Regions from separate parts of the Homo sapiens genome. Here region 1 is linked to region 2. The links are contacts of gene promoters, found by promoter capture Hi-C in human tissues and cell types (Jung and others, 2019). All regions are on one chromosome and are shown on one strand. Each heading gives the region's core, a stretch centred on a gene start or on the middle of the fragment in contact. The rest is flanking DNA. Distances are from core to core; before and after follow the strand shown. Region 1 has its middle 90 kb from the start of MAP3K8. Region 2 holds the start of LYZL2 (lysozyme like 2).

The links. Contacts are between HindIII fragments. The study calls those that stand out against the background at their distance.
Region 1: a fragment that was not itself captured here is called in contact with the fragment with the promoter of LYZL2 in region 2 in 3 of the 25 tissues and cell types used here (liver, mesenchymal stem cells and mesendoderm cells).

Annotation. Positions count from the first base shown.
Region 1 is chr10:30,522,645-30,525,761 of GRCh38, forward strand. No RefSeq gene overlaps it. Among named protein-coding and RNA genes, the nearest start is that of MAP3K8, 90 kb to the left of the region's middle. The HindIII fragment of the contact is 4,168 bases long and covers 1-3,117 here.
Region 2 is chr10:30,628,060-30,631,459 of GRCh38, forward strand. LYZL2 (lysozyme like 2) reads right to left here and starts at 1,694. Exons shown (of 5, transcript NM_183058.3): 1 at 1,534-1,694. The HindIII fragment of the contact is 10,435 bases long and covers 1-3,400 here.

The DNA of each region.
Region 1 (3,117 bases), core at 363-2,862, 110 kb before region 2:
ATAATTAACAGCCCTGGGAAAAGAATGCATTCCCGGGGGGGCCTCTCAAATGGCTGCCCTGAGAGTGTCTGCCTTATGCAGACGTAGGTAGGGATGAAACACGCCCTAGTCTCCTGCAGCGCCCCCAGGCTGGCTAGGATTAGGAAATTCCAGCCTGACAAATTCTAGTCAGACCGGTTCTCTGCTCTTGAACCCTGTTAAGATGTTTATCAATGACAATGCGTACACAGTGGGGCATGGAAGTTCATTAGTGATTCTAGTTTCACCCTGACCTTGTGATCTCGCCCTGACCTCCTGCCTTGTGATCTTTTGTTGCTCTGAAAGCATGTGATCTCTGTGACCCACATCCTATTCGTACACTCCCTCCCCTTTTGAAAATCACTAATAAAAACTTGCTGGTTTTGCAGCTTGTGGGGCATCACAGAACCTGCCAACATGTGATGTCTCCCCTGGACACCCAGCTTTAAAATTTCTCTCTTTTGTACTCTTTCCCTTTATTTCTCAGACTGGCCGACACTTAGGGAAAATAGAAAAGAACCTATGTGAAATATCGAGGGTGAATTTTTTTTTTTTTTGAGACAAAGTCTCACTCTGTCGCCCAGGCTGGGGTTCAGTGGCATGATCTCAGCTCACCACAACCTCCGCCTCCCAGGTTCAAGTGATTCTCCTGCCTCAGCCTCCTGAGTAGCTGGAATTACAGGCGCGCACCACCACCCCCAGATAATTTTTGTATTTTTAGTAGACACGGGGTTTCACCATGTCGTTCAGGCTGGTCTTGAACTCCTGATCTCAGATGATACACCCACCTCAGCCTCCCAAAGTGGTGGGAGTACAGGCATGAGCCACCGTGCCCGGCCACATGTGACTTTATAGTTCCTCCCAAGAAGCAGTGTATCCTTCTCTGCCCCCTAGTCCAACCCAGCCTAGATTAGCAGAGCCCCAAACCATCTGTGTAAATATGAGTGGTTGTAAATGATTCTTGTCTATAATCGCTGAGTTTTGGTGTCTGTAGTGTATTTCTCAGCAATAGCAAACAAATTTTTCTTTTTTTTCTTTGAGACAGAGTCTTGCTCTGTCGCCCAGGCTGGATTGCGGTAGTACAATCTCAGCTCACTGCTGACCACAGTGAGCTGAGTGCCACCACACCTGGCTAATTTTTGTACTTTTAGTAGAGACTGGGTTTCACCATGTTGGCCAGGCGGGTCTCAAACTCCTGACCTCAGGTGATCCACCTGCCTCGGCCTCCCAAAATGCTGGGATTATAGGTGTGAGCCACTGCGCCCGGCCTGCAATAGCAAAGAAATGTAAGTACAAACATACTTCAAATTTTAAAAGAGTTTCTAAGCTGGGCACAGTGGCTCACACCTGTAATCCCAGAACTTTGGGAGGCCGAGGTGGGTAGATCATGAGGTCAAGAGATTGAGACCATCCTGGCCAAACTGGTGAAACCCCATCTCTAGTAAAAATACAAAAATTAGCTGGGCATGGTGGTACATGCTTGTAGTCCCAGCTGCTCAGGAGTCTGAGGCAGGAGAATTGCTTGAACCTGGAAGGCGGAGGTTGCAGTGAGCCAAGATGGCACCACTGCACTCCAGCCTGGGCGACAGAGCGAGACTCCGTCTCAAAAAAAAAAAAATAAATAAATAAATAAATAAATAAATAAAAAATAAAAACCCCATAAAGAAGCAGTTTCTATAATGCCTATGTACATTTCAAATAATACTAACACTAATATTAATACAAATGCTAATAAAAGAATATAAATATTTTAACCCAACTTAAGTAATAAACATTACCAAATACCTTTTCCCATTCTTTTCCCAGAGCTAATTATGATCCTGATTTTGTTAATTACCTCTTTGCCTTTCATTAATTACTTCTTTGCCTTTCTTTATAATTTTGCCAATTTTTACTTATCTCTAAGTAATAAATACATTACTGAATATTGCTTATTTTTAAGCTTTATTGTACTATGTAAACTTGGTTTGGCACAAAATTATGTTTTTGAGATTTAACCACATTGATTGAGATACTCCCTTCCCCCCGCCATTTTTTCCTTACCTTATTGGTTGCAATTGATTATTAATATTTCACATGAATATTTTACCTAATCCAAAGTTAACTAATAAACTTTATTCTGCTCCCAAATCAAAGAACCTCAGAATGCTTTAACATCAATCTCTCCACTCACAGTTAACATACCATTGTTGTCCAGTAATGTTCAACTTCACACATATAATGTTCAACACAATATATGTTAACCATTATATTGGTTAACATAATCAGTGAATTTATATTTTCCCACATTTAGGCCAGGCATGGTGGCTCATGCCTGTAATCCCAGCACTTTGGGAGGCCGAGGTGGGTGGATCACCTGAGTTCAGGAGTTCAAGACCAGCCTGGCCAACATGGTGAAACCCCGTCTTTACTAAAAATACAAAAATAAGCTGGGCATGGTGGAGGGCACCTGTAATCCCAGCTACTCAGGAGGCTGAGGCAGGAGAATCACTTGAACCTGGGAGATGGAGATTGCAGTGAACCGAGATCACATCACTGCACTCCAGCCTGGGTAACAGATTAAGACTCAGTTTAAAAAAAAAAAAATAGCAGGGCACGGTGGCTCACACCTGTAATCCCAACACTTTGGGAGGCCAAGGTGGGTGGATCACCCGAGGTCAGGAGTTCGAGACCAGCCTGGCCAACATGGTGAAACCCCATCTCTACTAAAAAAAAAAAAAAAAAAAAATTAGCCGGGCGCGTTGGCAGGCGCCTGTAATCCCAGCTACTCAGGAGGCTGAGACAGGAGAATCACTTGTACCCTGGAGGCGGAGGTTGCAGTGAGCCGAGACTGCGCCATTGCACTCCAACCTGGGCAAGAAGAGCAAAACTCCATCTCAAAAGAAAAAATGTTCCCACATTTTATTTATTCACCAATCTTTCTTGTATCTCAGACTTCTCTGTGATCATTTCCTTTTATTGGGAATTGTATATTTTAGAGTTTTTGAGAGTCTGTTAATGGTAATTATTCTCAGTATTGCTTTTTCAAAAACAATCTTTCAAAAACATCTTCAAGATGTCACAATTTTACTTTTTTCTTTTAAGAATTGCCTTGTTTGG
Region 2 (3,400 bases), core at 444-2,943:
TGAGGCAGGAGAATGGCGTGAACCCAGGAGGCTGAGCTTGCAGTGAGCGGAGATTGCGCCACTGCACTCCAGCCTGGGCGACAGAGCGAGACTCCGCCTCAAAAAAAAAAAGATTCATCGTTTGGGGGTTTATTGAAGGGTGAAGATTAAGCACCTAATCTTTCCTTTTCTTTTCTTGATGCATTTCAAAATGTGGGAGCATTGCTTCCAAAGTACTAGTGTTTTATCTTAGATTGCAAATGCATTGCTTTGCTAAGCTTCACAACCAGTGCTCCGGGCGGCCTCCTAAAAGTCTGGCACCTGACTGGGGAGCAAGAGGGATGGAGGACAAAGCCTCATGAAAGGAGGAAAGCACCTGGGGGAGCAGAGGGACAATAAAGAGGCCCCCATAGAATCGTCTGAAATGGGAGTAGGATCAAGAGCGCTGTCTCCTGCTGCCTACTGATTTTCCACAATCTCCTCCCCTCTTAAAATAATGTCTTCCCCAAACACAACAGCCTTGCTGGGATGGGGTGAAGTGAAATTTCTGACAACTACTCGGGATCCTGAACTTGATGTTCTTACATATGTTCATCCCGTGTCATTTTCTGCACTTGCCTGGAAACTTCTCTAGTCATTAGTTTCTCTCCCTGGGGCTGGATTCCTGCATTGAAAGGCTAGGCCCAAAACAGGGATAAGTAGTCATCAGCAAGGCCACCGCACCGAGTAACAAGCAGGGCTTTAAGGTGACTAAGCAATAAGATAAGGAACTGCATTGCATGAGGGGCATGTACATTACAAACGTGAATAGCAAGCGTGGGCAAACCAGGCCCGCTTTTGTATGTAAAGTTTTATTGAAACATAGCTACTCTCATCATTTGGTAATATATTGTTGGTGGCTGATTTCCTGCTGCAGTGGCAGAGTTGAGTAGCTGTGTTAGAGGCTGTATAGACCACAAAGCCTAACATATTATTATCTGGCCCTTTTCAGAGAGATCATGCCAGTCCGTGGTGTACAGCATTGTGCTAAGCTGTGAGGGACAGACAAACGAGGTTTAAGATGCAGAGCTTAGGCTGGGCATGGTGGCCCACACCTGTAATCTCAGCACTTTGTGAGGGTGAAAAGGGCAAATTGCTTGAAGCCAGGAGTTTGAGACCAGCCTGGGCAACAAAGGTAGACCTCTGTCACTACAAAATACACAAAAATTAGCCAGGCATAGTGGTGTGTGACTGTGGTCCCACCTGTTTGGGAGGCTGAGGTGGGAGGATCTTTTAAGGCTGGGAGGTTGAGGCTGTTGTGAGTTGTGATTGTGCCACTGCACTCCAGCCTGGGCAACAGAGTGACATCCTGTTTCAAAAAAAAAAAAAAAGATGCAGAGCTTACAAATAAGGTTGGTTTCCATCCTCTGCCTTAGAATGTTAACTGATCTCAAACAAGTCAAAACAAAACCCGTAGCAATGATAACCCCAAGCATCATGTTCTACATCCTTCAAGAACCTGCCATTGCTGGTTCTCAGGGACAGGTGGCTTCATAAGAGTAATTTAGGTCTTACTGAAAAGGCAGATTCCTGGTGCCTGCCGCAGAGGCTGACTTCTCAGTTGAGTCTGCGGAAGAAACACTGCTCCACTTAGTCGGTGACAGGCAGCTCAGGGGAGCGTCCTGCATCCCCTGAAGCCATGTCTGATTCTAACAAGGCTCGAGTAATCCTTTCCTAGCTCAAGAACCTTTCTTTAGAGTGTTAGAGAAAGAAAAATTCTTAGTCCTTTGTTTCTCACCACCTAGAGATGCTAGAATTCTACTTCTTGGCACTAAAAGCTATATCATCCTGCACGCTTGTGTTCTGAAGCAGGTGCTAACTCTCTTCTGGGCCTTAATACCTCTCGTTTTTTCTCTTTTCCTCTCAACAACTGTCCTCACTACACAACTTGGCCAGGGCCTCCCGTCCAAGTGAGAGCTCTTCTCTAAGGCAACAGTCTGCAAACTTTATCACAAATTCCATTAATAAAGTTAAGCATGTATCCTCTTTAGATGTATATTAAATTATAAATCACACTTCTGTACCTCTGTACTAATATGCTACATAAATTATCAACATACACAAAACTAAAATCTGAAAATGAATGAGAGGTGAAATTAACATTAAAAATTAATTAACAGCACATTTCTTTGCTATAGTTATATTGTTAATTAATAAAATATTGTCAAAGGAGGGCCACAAAAGAAATAAAAAATTTTTATGTATAATTAACATGATTTCATTGTTTTTTAAAAATTTGGCTTAACACTTTGTGACTCAATAAAGAGCTAGTTTGAAGGTCCATTTATTTCTGTGTTCAGATTTAATGACACATTTGAAATGAATTCTCATTGGAATATGTAGATCTCAGTATAAGTTTGTTGTTAGTTGTACCTAACTAATTATTGTATTTTATTAAATTCCATCTGCAAATAATGCAAAGATCTTGTTGAAATCTAGTTTTAAGTTTATATAGTATTACATTGTGTAGATATAACATATTTAGCCAATTCCATATTGACTCACACTTAAGGTATTTTTTTCTTCTATGATAAACATATTACAATTAGTAATCTTGTACATTTGTCATTTGTACATTTGCAAGAATATCTGTAGGATACATTCCTGGAAATTGAATTGCTGGGTTAAGGACTGTAATTTTGTAATTTTGCTAGATATTGCCAAATTGCCTTCCACGTGGGCTTGTATGACGAAGATGGCTAGCATACCCTATTACCAAAGGTTAAGATATTTGCTAATATTAGAGATGAAACATAATTTGTCAGCAAAGTTTCAATTTCAGCTTCCCTTATTTCAAGCTGTCTGAGCATCTTTTCTTATCTTCAGAAGCCATTTGTGGACTTTTTTCTCTCTCTCTCTCTCTTTTTTTTTTTTTTTAATTGAGACAGAGTCTCCCTCTGTTGTCCAGGCTGGAGCTCAGTAGTGTGATCTCGGCTCATTGCAACCTCCACCTCGCAGGTTGAAGCGATTCTCGTGCCTCAGCCTCCCGAGTAGCTGGTATTACAGGCATGTGCCCCCACGCCCAGATAATTTTTGTATTTTTAGTAGAGATGGTGTTTCACCATGTCTGCCAGACTGGTCTCAAACTCCTGATCTCAAGCAATCTGCTCGCCTCAACCTCCCAAAGTGCTGAAATTATAGGCATGATCCACGGCATCTGGCCTGTGTGCTTTTTCTTGTGAATTGTCTATAATACGAGAAAATACATAGGTTTTTCTTCAAACATCTTTTTCAAAGTGCTTTGAAATAGGAATTTTATAGTCAATGAGAAAATAGAGACAGATTGTCTTTTTTTTCAAAAATGCTTGTTTAGCAAGTTTTCGGATACATAGTAAATATACAAAAGCCATTTCTATTCTTATATACTAGGAATCAAAATATT